4 separate regions of the Homo sapiens genome follow, and regions 2, 3 and 4 are each linked to region 1. The links are contacts of gene promoters, found by promoter capture Hi-C in human tissues and cell types (Jung and others, 2019). All regions are on one chromosome and are shown on one strand. Each heading gives the region's core, a stretch centred on a gene start or on the middle of the fragment in contact. The rest is flanking DNA. Distances are from core to core; before and after follow the strand shown. Region 1 holds the start of TBC1D13 (TBC1 domain family member 13). Region 2 holds the start of PTGES2 (prostaglandin E synthase 2). Region 3 holds the start of DNM1 (dynamin 1). Region 4 holds the start of C9orf50 (chromosome 9 open reading frame 50).

Region 1 (4,912 bases), core at 1,172-3,671:
TATTTGTGGAATATAAACTAAGCTACGAATGCTAAGTATTTTGTGCTTTACAGATATTATTTCATTTAATCTTCATTATTACCCCAGTAAGTAGGGAAGATTAACGTAATTGTCGTAAGAAGGAAACTTATCTGTAAAACTCTTAACTACTAACACTGACTGCCTCTCCTTTGGGGCCTATATTTCACTCCTAAACAGAAAGACAAAGTTATCCTGCAATAAGATCAGGAAGCTCACTACCGCAGTTGCTGCTGTAGTATCCCTGGTACCATGAACATGAGTGAATACCTCCACTTCAGAATCTATATGAGGATGACAGGGACAATATAAGAAGTTCTTTTTTTTTTTTTTTTTTTTGAGATGGAGCTTCACTCTTGTCGCCCAGGCTGGAGTGCAATGGCGCAATCTCGGCTCACTGCAATTCCCAGGTTCAAGTGATTTTCCTGCCTCAGCCTCCCGAGTAGCTGGGATTACAGGCAAGTGCCACCAAGCCCAGCTACTTTTTTATATTTTTAGTAGAGACTAGGTTTCACCATGTTGGCCAGGCTGTTCTCGAACTCCTGACCTCAGGTGATCCACCTGCCTTGGCCTCCCAAAATGTTGGGATTACAGGCATGAGCCACGGCACCCGGCCAGAAGTTCTTGCTGGCAAAGTTACAAGGGCAAAAAAGTGACAAGAAGCTATGCAGAACACGTTGGGATATTTTTTAAAACAGGCAAAAAGAGAGTTATCTTTGTGCTCATTGGGGCAAAGTCTAACACAGCAGGATCAGCTCCTTAAAGTCAGTGTCCCAAGGCTACCCATTTTACCACTAGCCAAGGTTTAGTTCAGGCAGCTTAGACCCCAAGCCAGGGAGAGAACAAGGAACAACCCTGCAGTTAACCAAACTCACCAACACAGGAAGCTAGCTAAGGAATGAGGAAAGACTGTCCTGGGCTCAAAAGGTCCCAACTCTCATTCTCCAGGCTTCAGTCCTGTCCTGTTACTCTCAGGAATCTGGCACCTCCTGCGGAAAGCTTAGGAAAGCTTAGGGCATGCTAAGTGTGGCCACTGCCCCTCTGGGAAACCCCTCCAAGCTCAAGGCAGTCACTGCCTGTTCAGCTCTACAGAATCTGGAAAAGGCCCCAAGAGTCTGTGTGTAATTTCCTTCCAAGGCCCCAGCCCCCAGCAGCTGGGCCCCAGAGCTGACCAGGTGTGGCCTCCCCCTGTATTCTAGCCACAGGGCTGCTGTAGGGAAACCGTGAAAATACAGAATGGCTTCTTACCACTAAAGCTGAGTTCCCGCAGCTTTTCCAATGCAATTGAGGGCTCCTTCAGGACATCCTGGAAATCTGCAATTCTGGAAGGGGAGATAGGGCGGCAAATGAAGCATGCTGATATCGGCTCAGTGAGACCCACAGCCCTCAGCTCCCTCACACTGCCAGTTTCCAACCTGTGCCTCTCTCCCCTTTAGGACATAAAAATCACACAGCTTAGTCAAGGTCCTCACCAAAGACAGCTTTGGAGAACAACAAAACTATATTTCACTTCTTCCTCTACAACCAGAAACACAGAATGCCAGGGAAGAAACTTGAGAGATATTCTTGTCTAGAAGTTCCCAAATGAGGACCATAAAATTAGACATATTCCAACATTCTAATACTTAGTGAGCTGACATTTACTGGGCACTTCCTGCCGGCCAGGCCGGGTCCACGCACAGCCACCAACTGAACTCCTTGGACCTCAGGAACCAGGAGTAATTTGATATGCAGACAATGGACCATGCTCACAAATATAACCATTACAAGACCTCTGGGCCTGCCAGAAGGCAAGGACAAAGGGTTTAAAAAACACGTCCTGAAGGAAAACTGAAGAGTGAGCAAAATTCAGCCAATGCTGCAGGATCTGGCCTGGGGGAGGGGCCAGACTGGAGAATGCAAGTTCTCTAGCAATCCTAGTAAGAAAAAGGCACGGGGGACAGGGTGCACTTGGAGAGAGTACGGGAGCAGGGGGATCAAAAGGGGGAAAGGCACGGGGGCGGGGCATGGGGGTCTGGATGAGGAAGACTCAGGGGAAGGGGGACACCAGGGGTCCAGGATGAGGGAGGCAGAAGCAGTGACATCAGGGGCAGGAGAAGGGCCGCCCCTCCGTCGTTCCTGCAGCCCACAGGCAATGAGGTTAGAAGGTGGACGCTCGAGACCCTCTGCCGAGGGGGTCTGCCGATTCCTGGCCACACCCGCGCTTCCCCCTTCTGAGGGGCAGAAGGGGCAGCCTGGCCAGGAGTGGCCCAGCCGGGTCAGGCCCCATGGCCCCTTACCGGCTCTTGTGCAGACTTGACATGGTGTTGACTTCCGGACCCCCCAGCCGCCTCCGCCGCCTGCGCCTCTGCCGCCTGCGCTGCCGCCGCCGCCGCCGCCCCCCAGGGACGCGGGGCTCTGCGCAAAAGCCTCCGGCGGGAAACACAGCCACTAGCCTGCGCGTTCCACCGCCTCAGCCCCGCCCCGCCCCGCCAGTCACGTGCCACCCCTCGACTCTCACGCTTCCACACGGTACTGGCGGCTACGGCCGGCCGGGTTGAGCGGGGCAACCTCGGGTCTGGTGGGCGTGGCAATCGCGGGCCGGGAGCCCCAGCGCCGCCGACCCTGCGGGCCAAATTTGAGAACCCGCCGGTGACAGCGCAGACTGTGTGTCTCTGGACTATTCCTTGCGCTTCCCTGGGCCTCAGTGTCTACTTACGCAATATACCTGTCACCCTGTCGTCTTCCCTGCACTCACCCCCCTGTAATTAACTACTGCATGATTGTTACAGGAGTCTCGGCCTCCCCTGCTAAACTGTTCAGGCCCCCCAGCTTATCTTGGTCTCTGCAGAATCCTCAAGGCCTGTATAGCAGGGACTCGCATGAACCGCCGTGCGCGGCCCAACTTTTTTTTTTTTTATAAAAACTATACCAGCAAACCCTATAAAATGTAAGTTAGGAAGAAAGAAAAAAACACAAATGATATCTTAAGAAAAATAGGCTGGACCGGGCGCGGTGGCTCATCCCTGTAAATTCCAGTGCTTTGGGAGGACGAGGCAGGCAGACCACTTGAGGTCAGGAGTTGGAGACCACTCTGGCCAACACGGTGAAACCCCGTCTCTACCAAAAATGCAAAAATTAGCCGGGCGTGGTGGCAGGCGCCTGTAATCCCAGCTCCTCGAGATTACCTTCTTTACAAAAGATGTAAAAATTAGTTGAGTAGGCCGGGCGTGGTGGCTCACGCCTGTAATCCCAGCACTTTGGGAGGCTGAAGCGGGCAGATCACCAGGTCAGGAATTTGAGAACAGCCTAACCAACATGGTGAAACCTCGTCTCTACTAAAAATACAAAAATTAGCCGGGTGTGGTGACGCACAACTGTAATCCCAGCTACTCAGGAAGCTGAGGCAGGAGAATTGCTTGAACCCGGGAGGCGGAGCTTGCAGTGAGCCGAGATAGTGCCACCGCACTCCAATAGCGCCACCGCACTCCAACCTGGGCAAAAACGCAAGACCCTGTCAAAAAAAAAAAAAAAAGAAAAGAAAAGAAAAGAAACTGCTTAAAGATTTTCCGAAATGGTTGTATTATTTAACACCTTTTTCTTGAGAAAAAAAAAAAAAGAAAGAAACAGCTAGCCAGGCGCGGTGGCTCACGCCTGTAATCCCAGCACTTTGGGAGGCCAAGGAGGGCGGATCATGAGGTCAGGAGATCGAGACCATCCTGTCTAACACGGTGAAACCCCATCTCTACTAAAAAATACAAAGAAAAAAATTAGCCGGGCGTGGTGGTGGGTGCCTGTAGTCCCAGCTACTCGGGAGGCTGAGGCAGGAGAATGGCATGAACCTGGGAGGCAGAGCTTGCAGTGAGTGGAGATTGCACGACTGCACTCCAGCCTGGGCGAAAGAGCGACACTCTATCTCAAAAAAAAAAAAAGAAAAAGAAAAAGAAAAGAAAGTGCTTAAATATTTTCCAAAATGGTTGTATTATTTAACACCTACCCCAGCAGTATATGAGAGTTGCTGTTGTACCACGTCCTCACCAATACTTGATGTGGTCAGTCTTTTTAATCTTAGACATTCTAGTAGATGTGAAGTGGTATCTCCTGCTTTAACATGCATTTCCCTAAAGACATATGATGTTGAGCATCTCTTCACACGTTTGCTATGCATATATACTCTTCTTTCTTTTTTTTGAGACATGGTCTCACTCTGTCACCCCAGGCTGGAGTGCAGTGGCGCAATCTCAGTTCACTGCAACCTCTGCCTACTGAGTAGCTGGGACTACAGGCGCATGCCACCATGCCCAGCTGATTTTTGTATTTTGAGGTAGAGATAGGGTTTCATCATGTTGGCCAGGCTGGTCTCAAACTCCTGACCTCAAGTGTCTGCCCACCTCAGGCCTCCCAAAGTGCTGGGATTACAGGCATGAGCTACCATGCCTGGCCTTCTTTTTTTTTTTTCTTGAGACGGAATCTCACTCTTGTTGCCGAGGCTGGAGTGCAATGGGGTGATCTCCAGCTCACGGCAACCTCTGCCTCCCGGGTTCAAGCGATTCTTCTGCCTCAGCCTCCCGAGTAGCTAGGATTAAAGGTTCATGCCACCCTGCCTGGCTAATTTTTATATTTTTTGATTTAAAAAAAATTTTGTATTTTTAGTAGAGACGGGTTTTCATCATGTTGGCCAGGCTGGCCTCAAACTCCTGACCTCAGGTTATTCTCCCTCCTCGGCCTCCCAAAATCCTGGGATTACAGGCGTGAGATACCATGCCTGGCAGCACCTGGCCTTCTAATTTTTTTTTTTTTTTGAGATGGAGTCTGGCTCTGTTGCCCAGGCTGGAGTGCAGTGGTGCAATCTCCACTCACCACAACCTCCGCCTCCTGAGTTCAAGCAATTCTCCTACCTCAGCCTCCCAAGTAG
Region 2 (4,665 bases), core at 1-2,500, 660 kb after region 1:
TGAAGGAAGTGGGTGGAGCAAAACCCATATGGGCGAGTGTCCCAGCAGCTGCCTCAGTTTCCCTATCTGTAAAACGGGGCTGGGGACCTGCAGCTCTCACGGGACTGGTTACCCGCTCGCGGGTGCTCGCCCTGCATCCGAGACAGCACCTACAACTCCAAACCCACTCGGGGCGGGTCGAGGTGGGCCCTTCGGTCCCTTCGAAGCCAACATCCCGATTCCCCTTCCCGGGAAGGCACCCCCGGAAACGCCAAGGTCGCTCCAGCAGTCTCCTCGGGTCACCCGCTTCCCCGAAGCCGTCGTCCTCGCCTTCCGCTCTCGTCTTCACCGGCATACTCAGGTCCCCGCTGGGGACTGACACTGCGGGCTCGGTCGCCGCAAGGACTGGAAGGAAGGTGGAAGATGCGGGGCGAAAGCGGAGCGAGAAGAGTGGGACGCGGCGGAGCAGCAGAGCCGGGACTCAGAGCTCCCCCCTCGCCCCGCCCCTCTCCCCGCCCACTCTGCGAGTCCCGCCCCCTCTCGGGCGCCGGGCGGGGCCATCCCGGGGCTGTCCGCGGAGACGCCTATGCGGTGGAGGCTCCGGGCTTCAGCTAGGGCGGGGGAGCCCAGCAGAAGGACCGAGCAGCCTGGCACCCCACTTTGCCATCCTCTCCCTGGAAATCTCGGGGTCGGCGGGCCGGCCGCTTCGCGTGGGCGAAATCAGAGACACGTGGTTTCCAAGGCCCCTTCGGGTTCGGGAAAATTTTATGGTTCGGGTCACAGTAGGAAGCGGACAATGAGGCGGGAGGGCAGAGAGAACCGCAACACCTGGTGCCGGGTCGGGTCGTTTCCGGGGCTTTCAGTGGCCGGAAGTCGCGGCGCCTGTACTGACTCTAGGAAGGGCTGGAGTTGTTTTGAATGGGCGCCCGTAAGAGAGGTGGGCAAGTACGTGTTACAGACGGCCACGCCGCCCTTTAGGCGGTCAAGGTGGGGCGAGGAGACGTTCGCCCCCCTGCAGTCGGCCGGGTCACTACCCAAGAGCCTTTGGAGGCGGAAGCATGGAACGGTCTGCAAACGTTCCCGAGCGGGCCTCTGCGGCTCTGGCGGGCGTTTCGAACTTGGGCGCCGGGCACACGCCCAGTCCCGAGAGCGCTGAGGGTTCCCTTAGCGTCGCCCTCACCCCGGCCAACCCGCGGGGCGCCAGAGTCCTGGCCCTTTAAACGCCGCGCGTGCCTCGGCGTCTTCGTTTCGCGCGCCCGCCCGCGGCGCCGGCGGAGCGAACATGGACCCGGCTGCGCGGGTGGTGCGGGCGCTGTGGCCTGGTGGGTGCGCCTTGGCCTGGAGGCTGGGAGGCCGCCCCCAGCCGCTGCTACCCACGCAGAGCCGGGCTGGCTTCGCGGGGGCGGCGGGCGGCCCGAGCCCCGTGGCTGCAGCTCGTAAGGGGAGCCCGCGGCTGCTGGGAGCTGCGGCGCTGGCCCTGGGGGGAGCCCTGGGGCTGTACCACACGGCGCGGTGGCACCTGCGCGCCCAGGACCTCCACGCAGAGCGCTCAGCCGCGCAGGTAAGGCCTGGCCCGGCCGGGGATGGGGATGCTGATCAGCGCCGAACTCGGGACTCCTGGGAACCCGCAGGGTCAGGAGTTGCCTCTGCCTGCTTGTGACCTTGGGCGAGTGACTTGGTCTGAAGTCTCCGAACCCTCTGTATTCTTTTGTGTAAAATAGGGGCACTCCTGATGCCTACTACCTGGAATTGTTCGAGTTCTCATAAAATCGTTCTTCTACCGTGGTTTTTTTTTTTTTTTTTTTTTTGGTTTGTTTATTTATGTTTTCGAGACAGGGTCTCGCATTATCGCCCAGGCTGGAGTGCGATCGCGGCTCACTGCAGCCTCTGCCTCCCAGGTTGAAGGGATCCTCCTGCCTCAGCCTCCCGAGTAGCTGGGACTATAGGCTCACCCCACTGCGCCCTGCTAATTTTTGTATTTTTTGTAGAGATAGGGTTTCACCATGTCGCCCAGGCTGGTCTCGAACTCCTGGCCTCAAGTGATCCGCCCACCTTGGCCTCTGAAAGTGCTGGGATCACAGGCGTGAGCCACTGCGCCCAGCCTTTACCATGTTTTAAGGAGACTTTTTTTTTTTGAGACGGAGTTTTTTTTTGCTCTGTTGCCCAGGCTGGAGTGCAGTGGCGCGATCTCGGTTCACTGCAACCTCCGCCTCCTGGGTTCAAGCAATTCTCCTGCCTCAGCCTCCCCAGTAGCTGGGATTACAGGCGCCTGCCACCCAGCCCGGCTAATTTTTGTATTTTTACTAGAGACGGGGGTCTCACCATGTTGGCCAAGCTGGTCTCGAACTCCTGACCTCAAATGAGCCACCCGCCTCGGCCTCCCAAAGTGCTGGGATTACAGGTGTGAGCCACGGAGCCCAGCCTCTACCGTGTTTTAAGACTTTTTTGATTAAGAGATGGGAGATCACAGGAAAGGGAAAGCCTTTTTCACTTTCCAAACGTTCATCATCCTCTCTCCCCACTGCCCCCAAATCCTAAGGCTGTGTATTTATTTAGTAGTAGTGGTGGTACCTTTATGGAACTGATGACTTAGACTCCAGGCTGAAACAGGAAGAGGTAGAAAGGTGCCCCCCCCAAGTGGTGACCCCCTAAGTGGTGGCCCAGCTGCCTTGAGACACTTTATACCTACCCCACACCTTGCAACTCTTCATTACTTGACTTCCCACCACCCGCCCACAGATGCTTATTTGCTGGACCAGAGGGAACAGAGGTGGGTAAAAAGGGCATGGAGTACTCTGTGTCTCCCTTCCTGCCTCCACGGTCCAGCTTCCCCTCTGAACACAGGGGGATGGTCTACAGTTGTGGCTTCCCGGCATGAACGTGCAGCAGGCTCCCCTGGGGGCTTTCCTGCGGAGCTTGCCACACGCAGGCCTTGGCTCAGATACCACCCTCCCCCTCGGATATTTGAGATAGACTTTGGCTGGAGGATCACATGAACCCCGGAGTTCAAGGCTGCAGTGAGCTGTGATCAAGCTACTGCACTCCAGCTTGGATGGCAGAGTGAGACCCTGTCTCCAGAGAAAAAAACAAGAAAGAGATTGGAGGTAGACCCCACTGGTGAACATGAGCCTGGGTGGTAGCCCAGCTCTGCCCCCAGAGGTCCCTGGGGTTAGAGGAGTGAGAGTGAACAAGTCAAGTTGAAACAGTTGTTCCATGTCTGTGGGAGTGGGGTGTATACCCTGGGGCTGTCTGGTGTCCCCTTGGGACTGGAGTGAGAAAAGAGGGGTCTGTCCAGTATGGGACAGAGACTAGAAGATTCCTCCTACACAACCTCGCAGCAAAGGGTGGGACTCCTGCTTGGGGACCGTGCTGGCCAGGGGCTTAAACCTGGGCTGCTGTCCAGTGCCTCCCTTTCCCCTACCGCCCCCTTCCATCTCTAGTTCCTCTTCCCGATGTTCTAGCGTCATTTCAGAAGACTCCTCTGGAAAACACCCTTGGGGGCAGGGCCTGGGCCTGGGGGTGCCAGGTCTAGAAGCCTTTTCCGTCTGCTGCCCGCAGCTCTCCCTGTCCAGCCGCCTGCAGCTGACCCTGTACCAGTACAAGACGTGTCCCTTCTGCAGCAAGGTCCGAGCCTTCCTCGACTTCCATGCCCTGCCCTACCAGGTGGTGGAGGTGAACCCTGTGCGCAGGGCTGAGATCAAGTTCTCCTCCTACAGAAAGGTGCCCATCCTGGTGGCCCAGGAAGGAGAAAGCTCGGTGAGCCCCAGGGAACCCCCTGCATCCTTCCTCCTTTCCTGGGTTGTCCTGGAGCGCCCCCTAGCCTGGCCTGGCTCTGCAGCCTGGGAAGGAACTTGTGATCCTTGTGCCTGTAAGGACTATGGGGGAAGTAGCTGCATACGGTAGATGCTCAATAAATGTAGGCTCTCTCCTTCCGTACCAAAACCAAACACCTGCTGGGTCTCAGGGAGGCAGAACACCACAGCTTAACAACATAGATTCTGAAATCAGCGATCTGGGTTTGAGGTGTGATTCACCCACTCACTAGCTGTGTGACTTGGGGCAAGTCACTTAGCCTCTCTGCGCTTGCTTGCTTCATGAGTCAACAAGGGACCATATTCTGGCTTGCAGGGACGGCAGATATGAAATGCCTGGCACAGTGCTTGGGGTCTAGTATGTAGCTTCCAGAACCCACCCTGCCCCTCTACCTGGGAGGCCAAATGGGTGAGTGGGCTGGGGCTTAGACCCCACGGCTTTCCCACACCTTCCTCCCCATTGGCCACAACCACGTCTCCCTACTTAGGATGGGTGCCCTGAGGGCAGGGCGGGGAGGACTCCGGGCATGTCCCCAGGAATGGATAAACAATGCCCAGAGTGTCTTGTTAAAGAGCCCCTGGTGACTCCCAGCGGCTGGGTTGCAACCTCTGATTAAACCACCCTTTTCTCTTCCAGCAACAACTAAATGACTCCTCTGTCATCATCAGCGCCCTCAAGACCTACCTGGTGTCGGGGTAAGGAGCCCCTCGGAGACCAGGTGGCCATTGCTTTTGGTGGCTTCCTCCAGGGAGGCCTCCCCTGAGTTCCCTCCTGGGAGCACGTGGAGCTGCTGCTTAGATTTCCAGAGTACAGAGTGGCTCGCACCTGTAATCCCAGCACTTTGGGAGGCCGAGGCAGGCAGATCACCTGAGG
Region 3 (5,353 bases), core at 1,888-4,387, 580 kb after region 1:
ATTTTCCAGTTGTCTTCTGAGTTTCTCCCTCTGCAGTGCAGAGTCTTGGTCTTTTCCACCATAGAATCCCCAGTGCTGAGACATCGTGCACCCTCCACAAATGTTTGCTAAATGACTGAATGAATTGGCCTCAGTTTTCCCTTCTGTAAAAGGGAAGGGGGTGAAGAAATAGTATAGACCCAGACAAGTTCTAGCAGCATCCCAGGCAGCTGCAAGGCTACCTCCATTGCAGAGTTGACAGCAGGATCCTCCTGAGCACCCAGAAGCCCGGGTGGGCCTGGGGCAGCCCTGATGCATTTTCCTGTGAAGCATTTTCTGTTGGGGATTGGCTCCTGGGAAGCCCCAGGAGACAGAATGGCTGTTACTATGCTCACCAGTCTGGGGACTGAGCCCTGTTGGAGAGGTCAGGAGCCCTTGAGGGAGCTGGCAGGCTGAGACAGTGGAACCCACTGAGCCTCAGTTTCCCTGGCCTTCTCACTAGCTTTCAGAGGATCATGAATGCTTTTCTGCCTACTCCTTCACATCAACCTAAGCCCCCTCCCCTGCCCTGGGCCTGCATCTGGACACCCTGCACATCCTCCTGTGGGGACAACGGCCAAGGGCATTGGGGTGGAGAGGGCAGCCAGAGGGCCCAGGCCTCCTGGGGCACGGTCCAAACCTTGCTCCACCACTCAACAAGCAAGTACTCGATGAAATCTGCTGTGGTCAGGGATGGCCCCTGCGTCATGGGCTCCAGGAAGGCAGGGGCTGGGCATGCAGGTCCCCAAGCCTAATTGGCTATCAGCGCCCCCTCCCGCATGTTTACAAAAGCACCTTTCCACCCATGAACTCGGTGGAGCCCACAGTCACCTTCTCAGGAAGGCAGGGCAGCGGCTGTCAGCGTTTCCATTCCGCAGATGGGGAAATGGAGGCCCACCCACCCACACGTCCCTGTGCCTGGTGCAGGACCCGGCTGTCAGAGGATGTGCAGCGTCGAGATTAGGAATTGGGCTTTGGAGTCTAACAGCTGCTGCCCTTTCTGAATGTGTGACCTTGGGCAAGGCATCTAACCTCCAGGGTCTCAGTTTCCTCATCTGTAGGATGGGCATCATGGTACCTGCCTCTTGGGAGCTCCTGTGAGCCTATGAAGGACTCAGCATAGGGGGATGCATGGGATGGGCTCAGTAGATGCGGGCTGAAATCACCAGTTGGTCCCCTCCCTACCCCAAGCCTGAAGCACGCAGCCTGGCATGGGGCAGGAGTTCAGCCAACATTCAAAGGACGAGAGGTAGGAATATGGTTTCTCCATTCTAAACTGCTGGATATCCCTGACTGCTGGCCCTTGGGGAAGGGGCCCGTGGTGTGTCTCTTGCCTGTGTCTCTGCAGCTCCGGGGGTCATGTGATCAGAAGGGGGGCTCTGCAGGAGCCATTGGAGAGACAGATGCCTTCCCCTCTGCTGACCAGATGGGCACGGCCGCCCCCACGGTGGCCTTCCAACGTCCCACACACACATGGCTCCAGTCAGGCCCTCTCCCTCTCACCTCTAGGGCTGGCATGGGTTTCCCAGGACATTTGAGGGGCAGGAACAACCACCCAGTCCCACTGTCCATGTTAGAGATGGGGACACTGAGGCTCAGAGAGGGCAAGTGACTTGCCTGAGGTTTTGCAGCAGAACCTGGCTTGGACAGAACTGCTGTACCTCTGCGGACAAGGGCCCCTGCCTCCCTCTCCCATGTGCCAGTCACTTTTTTGGCCCTGAAGGTCATTGGAAGAAAGCAAGAGTTTCTGAAGAAGATGGGGGGGAGATGAAAGACGGGGTCAGTGTAAACTCTCTCACTTCATCCCCCAGTCTGCCCAGCCCCCCAACCCACCTCCAGTACCTGGAGAGCTCCTATCTTTCTTCTCTCTCCTCAGCACCAGAAAAACTATTTCTGCCTCCCTTTGGGGGTTTGTGGGGAGCCTGCGGGTCACGACCCTGCCTGCCCCGCTAAACCCACGACCCTTTGTCTTTGCGGTTGTTCCTCTCTCCGCCACCTAGGCCTCTCAGCGCCTTGTGGGATCAGAGGCGGGAGGGGGATTAGGTTCTGCAAATGGCTCCCCCCTCCCGCCATCCCTGTCTTAGTCATCTCTGCCCTCTGCCGCCTCTCCCTCCAACACGATTCCTCTGGCCAGGCCAAGGGGAGGGCGACACTGACAGGCGCCCCCCACCCAGGGGCCGTGGCGAAGCAAGGGGCCGGCTGCTCAGAAAAGGATAAGAAGTGGTTTCTCCTCCCCTCTTCCCTTCCTCATCCTGCAGCCCGCGCCTCCCCCCTCGCCGCGCTGCGCACGGATGGCGGCGGGAGCCGCAGAGGTGTGTGTGTGCTGGCGGGAGGCCGTGCCCGGTCCTCGATGCCCGCGGGACTACGTCCTCTTCTAGGGACTGGGATGCGGGGGCTGACCTCTGCCACGGCCCAGGAATTCCCATGGGGGTAGGGGGATGTCCCCCATTGAGCCCGGTGTGGGGGACGCTGCCCCCGGGTGCTGCCCGCTCCAAGGGACTCCCGGAGCCCAACGGAGACGCTGAGTAATGCGGGCTCTCTCCATGCCCATGTTGGGGGCGGGGGGCAGCTCTTTGCCCGGGGCTTCTGGCAGAGCGTTGTCTGCCCTAAAGGATGGGACGGAGGAGGGGGCGTGATTCGGTAGCCGGAGGCTTGACGACGTTTGCAGACTAGCGGGGGGCGCTGCTGCCCCGAGGGGCTCTCGTGGTGGGGGGAGGGCCTCCTCGCTCCGGCTGGGGGTGGGGGGCGCGCCGGCCGCGGGTGCAGCGTCGGGGGCTGCGAGGTCGCCGCGCCGTCAGTGCCCCGGGCGGGGACTCCAGGGATCCCGGGGGTCGGGGGTCGGCGCCTGGGGGCGCGCCGCGCCTACCTGCCTACGAAATTCTCGAGCACCGAGCTCTTGCCGGCGCTCTGGCCGCCCACCACAGCGATCTGCGGCAGGTCGAGGTCCGCGTTCTGGCCGATGGCAGAGAAGGCGTCTTGCAGCCGGTTGACCAGCGGGATGAGATCTTCCATGCCGCGGTTGCCCATGGCTGCGGCGGGCCCCGCAGGCTGCGATCCGGCTGCCGCTAGCGCTCCCGGCTCCGACTCCGGCTCCGCCGCTGCAGCCGCGCGCCCAGACTGCCTGCGCCGCGGGGCCCCCGCCCCTCGGGGATCGGAGCGAGCACCGCTCCCGGACGCCGCTAGGGGGAGCCCGCGGCGCTGCGGGCCGGCCGCCGTGCGCAGGCGCCGTCCGGGGCATCATGGGTGTCGTAGTTTTCACCTTCTGCGGCTTTTGGGGTGCTTTAGCAGTGTCTGGGGTGCGCGGATGCTGCGCAGAATATATTTGTCAATGGGTTGGGTCTCACTCCTAGTACCAGGCCTCTTGGAGAGTGGTCTGGATGTTTCACTCCATCTTACCGATGAGGAAACAGGCCTGGAGAGCAGATGGGCTTCCTCTGAGGTCACAGCCTCCTGACCTCAGAGGTCAGAACTCCGAGATGAGTTCCCCTTCATCTCGCTGGCTTCTATCCCTAGATCCTGACTCTGATCTCCAACATGTCCTCTTCTGCCTTTGGTCCTCAGTTTCCTTGTTTCTAGAAGGAGAAAGTTGGAACATGAATTCAACAAATATTTACTAGGTACCTGCTAGAAGCCAGGCCCTGTCCTAGGCACTGAAGATTCAGCAACGAATAAGACAGCCAAGGCCTCTGCCCTCATAGATCTTGCATCAAGCTGGGGAGACAGACAGTAAATAAGTAAGCAGATAAATGAAATAGTAAAAATGAAAATAATTCATAGTAAGAGGGATGGAGGAAATAAACAGGGTGAAAAAAGGTATCTTTGTGGGTGTGGAAAGTTCACATTGGCTTGGCAGGAGTCGGGGGTGTTCTCTGCAGAAGTGACATTTGAGAAGAGACCAAAATGATGAGAAGGAGCCAGCAGCAAGCAGATCAGGGGAAGAGCATGCCAGGCTGAATGACCAGCAAGTGCAGAGGCCCTGACACCTGGAGGGCCCTTCTTGGGAGAGTTGGAAGCTCTTGTCCTAGAGAGTGGAAGTCTTTGCTCCAACCCATCAGGATGGTGGTAAAACAGCGTAAAACAGTGGGATTCAAATCCAGGGCTCCTACAATCCTACCCTGCGTACCCTTTCACACAGACAGACCATGGGGCCCTGAGCCCAGCCGTCCATCTCTGCATTTAAGAAACCTAATTAGTATTCACGGTGGAGGCTAGGAAGGGAAGGCTAGCCTACACTGTGCTCATGGGGAGTCGGTGAGTCATTTCCCTGCGCTGTGAACAGTGTGGGGGCACTGCTGACAAAGTGGTCTGTGAATTGGAGACTGTTCACTTACTCATCCATTTAATGCGTATTTGTTGAGCCAGGTACTATGCTAGACTCCAGAGATAAAGCAGTGAGCAAAACGGACAAAGTCCTTACCCACATGTGGCTGACAATTCAGTGGAAAAAGACAGACAATATGCAAATAGGGCAATAACGATGGCCCTGTTAGATGGCGTGCCCTGCAGAGCAAGAAAGCAGGGGCGGGGTAGGGTGGTGTTGCTATTGTGAAGATGGTGATCAGAGAGTGACCCTTGTGGGGAGGAATCTTCGAGGCAGGCATGGGGAACAAGCAGGCCCTCTCCCTGGTAGCACCAGAGAGTGGATTAGGAGTCTAATCTGGGCCTTAAACAAGCTGCGTGACCCAGGTCCCTCCACGTCTCTGAACCTCAGTTAACTAATCTGGATAATGGGGATAATAATAGATCAAATGCCTGTGTAGGGCACAGCCCAGGCCTAGTGCTCAGGGGGCCCTTATTAAGCTGCAGCTGTGAGGATGCCAATGATAACAGCTCACCAGACAGCTGGAGCATCAGTGCCACACAACTTGCATGGAACCTGGCAGCTGTTCCATGCCAACCTGTTATTATGCTCTGAGGACAAGAGAAGGCAGAGATGGAAGCCTGGATGACTGGCACCAGGAGGGGGTGCAGTTTATAGATGTTTGCCTAGAGGGCATCATGGCTGGGCTTTTAATATTATTTATTTACTTATTTATTTTATTTATTTTTGAGACGGAGTCTCACTCTGTCGCCAGGCTGGAGTGCAGTGGCATGATCTCAGCTCACTGCAACCTCTGCCTCCTGGGTTCAAGCGATTCTCCTGCCTCAGCCTCCCGAGTAGCTGGGACTACAGGCACGTGCCACCACTCCTAGCTAATTTTTGTATTTTTTGTTTGTTTGTTTGTTTTTTGAGACGGAATCTCGCTCTGTTACCCAGGCTAGAGTGCAGTGGTGCGATCTTGGCTCACTGCAACCTCCACCTCCTGGGTTCAAGCAATTCTCCTGCCTCAGCCTC
Region 4 (5,030 bases), core at 1,326-3,825, 830 kb before region 1:
AAGCATTGACAGAAAATAGAATATATCTTTGGCGACGCGTTCTCTAGTGAGTCACTCTGTTATTTGAATTACAAAGTCGTTTCTTCATTTTCAAATTATGAAACTATGCCACGCCAGTGAAATACTCATGTAAATGACCTCTGTCTCCCACCCCAGCTTCACAATACTATGAGCTTCCTCTCGGCCCTCTCCCAGCCAAGACTCAGAGATAAGGCCCAGGGAGTCCTGAGAAAGAAGACACTTCTCCAGGATCACACAGCAAAACAGCAGACCATGGACTTGAAAGTGGGTCTGTTAATTTCTTTTCTTCCTTCCTTCCTTCCTTCCTTCTTTTTTTTTTTTTGAGATGGAATCTTGCTCTGTCGCCCAGGCTGGAGTGCAGTGGCGCGATCTCCGCTCACTGCAAGCTCCGCCTCCTGGGTTCACGCCATTCTCCTGCCTCAGCCTCCCGCGTAGCTGGGATTACAGGTACCCGTCACCACAACCAGCTAATTTTTTGTATTTTTAGTAGAGACAGGGTTTCACCGTGTTAGCCAGGATGGTCTCGATCTCCTGACCTCATGATCCACCCGCCTTGTCCTCTCAAAGTGCTGGGATTACAGGCGTGAGCCACCGTGCCCGGCTCTTTCTTTCTTTTTTTTTTTATGGAGATGGAGTCTCACTCTGTTGCCCAGGCTGGAGTGCAGTGGCGTGATCTCGGCTCACTGCAACCTCCGCCTCCCGGGTTCAAGCAATTCTCCTACCTCAGCCCCCCAAGTAGCTGGGACTACAGGCACACGCTGTCACGCCCGGCTAATTTTTTTGTATTTTAGTAGAGACGGGGTTTCACCATGTGGCCCAGGCTGATTGCGAACTCCTGAGCTCAGGCAATCCACCTGCCTCGGTCTCCCAAAGTGTTAGGATTACAGGTATGAGCCACTGGAACCTGGCCTCTTTTTTTTTTGTGAGACAGAGTCTCAAATGATCTGTGTAACGGATTAGAGTTGGAGATGTCAGCATGAGCTCATGTTTAGCTTAATATAAGTACAGATGGTTACCTATAGAAATATTTATAGATATGTGTGTGTTTCATAGTATACACACACATTTCTTTGTCAGCTGAGACTGCCTGAAAGAAATGACATCTCAATAGCAAGAAGCACACCTAGCACCCAGACCTTGGATTATTATTATTATTATTTTTGAGATGGAGTCTCGCTTTGTCACCCAGGCTGGAGTGCAGTGGCATGATCTCAGCTCACTGCAACCTCCGCCTCCCAGGGTCAAGCGATTCTCCTGTCTCAGCCTCCCAAGTAGCTGGGATTATAGGTGCACAACACCATGCATGGCAAATTTTGGTATTTTTTGTAGAGACGAGGTTTCACCATGTTGGCCAGGCTGGTATTGAACTTCTGACCTCAGGTGATCCGCCCGCCTCGGCCTCCCAAAGTGCTGGGATTACAGGCGTGAGACACCGTGCCCCGCAGGGTCTGTTCATTTCTAGGTCCATTGTATTCTGACTGCCTGGTCTTGGGGTGGAAGTTCTACTTCCAGAGCCACCCAGCCTAAGCCTCCCAGATCTGGAAAGGGTAGGCCTGGCTGCCCTGGTCAGAGTCCCAGTGCCCCAGGTGGCTGCGGCCAGGGCATCCAGGGCACAATAGCCCCACCCTTAGTCCCCAGGCCTCAGTGCCCACTGCTACTCAGATGCCCAGGGGTGAGGGGCGGATCACAATGACCCTGAAGCGGCCCAGAGGCAGCCGGGAGGGGCTGGGAGAGGCACCAGGCAGGGATGATGGGCTCTACAGCCTGCCTGTAGAGAGCTCTAAACTCACAGGACCTTCTAGGGCCCCACCCAGAAGCCCACCAGGGTGAGTGTGACACTGCCCAGGAGTCAGCTCAGAGCTGACAACAATCTGGGAGTGGGGTGTGGTTGGGAGGAAGCAGGCTTAGAAACCCCTCAGTGTCAGAGCTGGGAGTAAGACTGGGGCTCTGCCTCCCAAAGGGGGAGTTTGTTAAAAGTCTGTGTCTTGGCCAGAAGTGGGGACTCACGCCTGTGATCCCAGCACTTTGGGAGGCCAAGGCAAGTGGATCACTTGAGCCCAGGAGTTCAAGACCAGCCCGTGCAACATAAATACAAAAAAATTCTACCCCATTTCTACAAAATATACAAAAATTAGCCAACTGTGGTGGTGTGTGCCTGTAGTCCCAGCTACTCAGGAGGCTGAGGCAGGAGGATCACTTGAGCCCAAGAATTTGAGGCTGCAGTGAGCTATGATGGTGCCATTGCACTCCAGCCTGGGTGACAGCAGGACCCCGTCTTAGCAAGACCCCATCTCTTTAACAACAACAACAAGAACAACAAACTGTCTTGGCTCCAGCAGAGACGTACTGAATCAGAATGGGGGCTGGGGGTAAGTCATCTGTATTTTCAACAGGCTCCCCACCCAGGGGTCTCTGAGGCAGCACCAGGGCTGGGAGGCTGCTGGTCAGGTCTCTCTTCCCTCAAGCTGGTTCCAGGTTTCCTAATTCCCAGTAGAGCGCTAATGACGGTAACAGTTCCACGCTTTGAACACTGCAAGGCAGGCTAAGTGCTCTCTCTACCAGCGGTGATGCGGTGATGCCGTTTCACGGCTGCAGAGAGGCAGGTGCTGCTATTATCCCCATTCTGCAGACCAGAGCCCCCAGGGAAGGCAGAGGGAAGTTAATTGGCTTGGCCAAGGTTACAAAGCTAATAAGTGGTGGAGCTGGGACTAAATCCTAAATAATAATAACTTTGAAATACTAAGAATGGCAGCTAGTCTATGTGTAAGCTTGGCCAGCGTGCCTGGCACTGTACCGAGCTTGCTGTTCTAAGACTGGCATGTACTTGCTCATTTAAACGTCACAGCAACCCCCAAAGTTGGCTACTCTTGCTGTCACCATTTTTCAGGTGAGGAAACAGAGGCTCTGGGAGCTCTCGCCTGAAGCCACTCGCTGTCCGCCGGGCCGGTGGCGTTCACCCCGCACCGCGCTGCCCCGCCCGGGGCACTATGGCCTGGGGCTGGACTATGCCCTCCCCACCTCAGCCGGCGCCCCCCACCCACGCGCGCTGAGGGTGCGGTGAGCTGAGTGCGGGGCCAAGCATGTTCTGGCGTCGACTTCGCCCAGGGGCCCAGGACCTGGCGCCCAAGGGGCTCCCTGGCGACGGAGACTTCCGACGCAGCAGCGACCCGCGGCTGCCCAAGCTGACCCCGCCCGCGCTCCGAGCGGCTCTGGGCGCGCGGGGCTCCGGGGACTGGAGGATCCCGGGGGGCGGCGCCGCGTGGTGGCCGGAAGGGGACGCCAAGCCCGGGGTGGGCGTCGGACGCCTCCCGCCGCGCCTGCCCGCCTTGCTCACCGCGACCCGGCGGGCCGTGCGGAAGCGGGGGCTGCTGCGGTCCCTGCTGCCGCCTCCCCTGCTGTCGGCCGGCGCGTCCCGGGAATCGGCGCCCAGGCAGCCAGGGCCTGGAGAGCGCGAGCGCCCCCGGAGGCGCGTGGCCAGGGAGGACCCCGACTTCTTGGGCGCCTTCCTAGGAGAGCTCCTCCCCAGCAGGTTCCGTGAGTTCCTGCACCAGCTCCAGGAGAAGTGCGCCGAGGAGCCGGAGCCACTGAGTGAGGCCCCGCGGGGCCCGGGGGGCGGGCCCGAGTCATTTCCGGTGGGGGGTGGTCCCTTGTGTCCCCGCACCCACCACCCCACCACCCAGGCTAGAAGGATGCTAATGTTAGCTGAGTATCTCAGAGCCCTCGCAACCCGTCCTTGAGGGCTGGTCTGCCATCACCCCGAGGCCACATGACTAGAAAGGACCGTCCCCCAGCCAAGGCTCACAACTGTTTCCTCCTGGCTCCAGCATCCCCAGCACCGCAACATCAAAGGGGTGTATTAGAGCACTGCCCAGGGTCTCCGCGGTGTCCCAACTGTTCATTCCTCCCAGACCTGTGGTAAGCGTCAGTCCGCTTCTTGGTGGGGACGGGGTTGCCATCGATGTTTCCAGGGCGGGACAGCCTGGCCACTCATGCCAGATGTGGCCTGTTTGTCTTTAAGGGGCCAGTCATCGCACCTCCAGGATAGTCTTACGAAGATTTCGCTCCAGCAGACACCTATTCTGGGGCCCCTGAAGGGTGATCACTCACAATTCACCACTGTCAGAAAGGCCAACCAGTGAGTGATGGGCGGGATAAGGGTAGGGTAGTGGAGGAAAGGGGCATTTCTTTCCTTCTTTCTTTCCTCTTTCGCCCATGAATGTATTCATTTATCCACCTATCTACCCATTCATCCATCCTTACATATGGCTGTCCGTGAATCAGATCTTCTACCAACCCATTCAAGATTCATTCGCCAGTTCATCAATGAATCAACCCATCCATTAATGAGGTCTTCTACCAACACATAATTCATCCATGAATCTATTCATATATTCATTTTCCCATTCACCCATCCATCTTTGCATCCATCTCATCCATGAACCAAGTCTTCTACAACCCGTTCATGAATCTCTCCATCTATCCATCCATCCTTCTGTCCACCCATTAATCTATCATGGACCCATGACTCCATCCATCCATACATTCACTCACCCACCCACCCATGAATCAGGTGTCCTGTGGATCCATTCATCTACCTGGCCAACCAGCTAGCCAGTCATCCATCTAAAACTCCCACACTTCGGCAGGGCACGGTGGCTCACACCTGTAATCCCAGCACTTTGGGAGGCTGAGGTGGGCGGATCACGAGGTTAGGAGATTGAGACCACCCTGGATAACACGGTGAAACCCCGTCTCTACTAAAAATATACAAAAAAAAAAAAAAAAACACAAAAAATTAGCCGGGCGTGGTGGCGGGCGCCTGTAGTCCCAGCTACTCGGGAGGCTGAGGCGAGAGAATGGTGTGAACCCGGGAGGCGGAGCTTGCAGTGAGCTGAGATTGTGCCATTGCACTCCAGCCTGGGTGACAGAGTGAGACTCCATCTCAAATAAAAATGAAATAAAATAAAATAAAATAAATAAAAAATAAAACTCCCACACTTCTATCCATC

What was found. Contacts are between HindIII fragments. The study calls those that stand out against the background at their distance.
Region 2: a contact is called between the fragment with the promoter of PTGES2 here and the fragment with the promoter of TBC1D13 in region 1, in 1 of the 25 tissues and cell types used here (small bowel).
Region 3: the fragment with the promoter of DNM1 here is called in contact with the fragment with the promoter of TBC1D13 in region 1 in 2 of the 25 tissues and cell types used here (dorsolateral prefrontal cortex and liver).
Region 4: a contact is called between the fragment with the promoter of C9orf50 here and the fragment with the promoter of TBC1D13 in region 1, in 2 of the 25 tissues and cell types used here (pancreas and stomach).

What each region holds. Positions count from the first base shown.
Region 1 is chr9:128,784,762-128,789,673 of GRCh38, reverse strand. TBC1D13 (TBC1 domain family member 13) reads right to left here and starts at 2,421. Exons shown (of 12, transcript NM_018201.5): 1 at 2,298-2,421; 2 at 1,267-1,340. The coding sequence starts at 2,320. RefSeq lists a silencer at 2,284-2,773. The HindIII fragment of the contact is 9,895 bases long and covers 1-4,912 here.
Region 2 is chr9:128,124,314-128,128,978 of GRCh38, reverse strand. PTGES2 (prostaglandin E synthase 2) reads left to right here and starts at 1,250. Exons shown (of 7, transcript NM_025072.7): 1 at 1,250-1,540; 2 at 3,538-3,735; 3 at 4,429-4,487. The coding sequence starts at 1,262. It overlaps PTGES2-DT (PTGES2 divergent transcript), which reads right to left and starts at 450. Exons shown (of 1, transcript NR_024425.1): 1 at 1-450. RefSeq lists silencers at 240-349, 380-579, 1,220-1,509 and enhancers at 890-1,009, 1,650-1,729. The HindIII fragment of the contact is 32,314 bases long and covers 1-2,910 here.
Region 3 is chr9:128,201,163-128,206,515 of GRCh38, reverse strand. It overlaps DNM1 (dynamin 1), which reads right to left and starts at 3,137. Exons shown (of 22, transcript NM_004408.4): 1 at 2,885-3,137. The coding sequence starts at 3,045. It also overlaps a transcript of CIZ1 not described here. RefSeq lists enhancers at 1,351-1,923, 3,355-3,454 and silencers at 2,212-2,506, 3,075-3,294. The HindIII fragment of the contact is 10,387 bases long and covers 1-3,224 here.
Region 4 is chr9:129,618,646-129,623,675 of GRCh38, reverse strand. C9orf50 (chromosome 9 open reading frame 50) reads left to right here and starts at 2,575. Exons shown (of 7, transcript NM_199350.4): 1 at 2,575-3,609; 2 at 3,846-3,936; 3 at 4,040-4,156. The coding sequence starts at 3,102. It also overlaps a transcript of NTMT1 not described here. RefSeq lists an enhancer at 2,463-3,113. The HindIII fragment of the contact is 8,954 bases long and covers 1,027-5,030 here.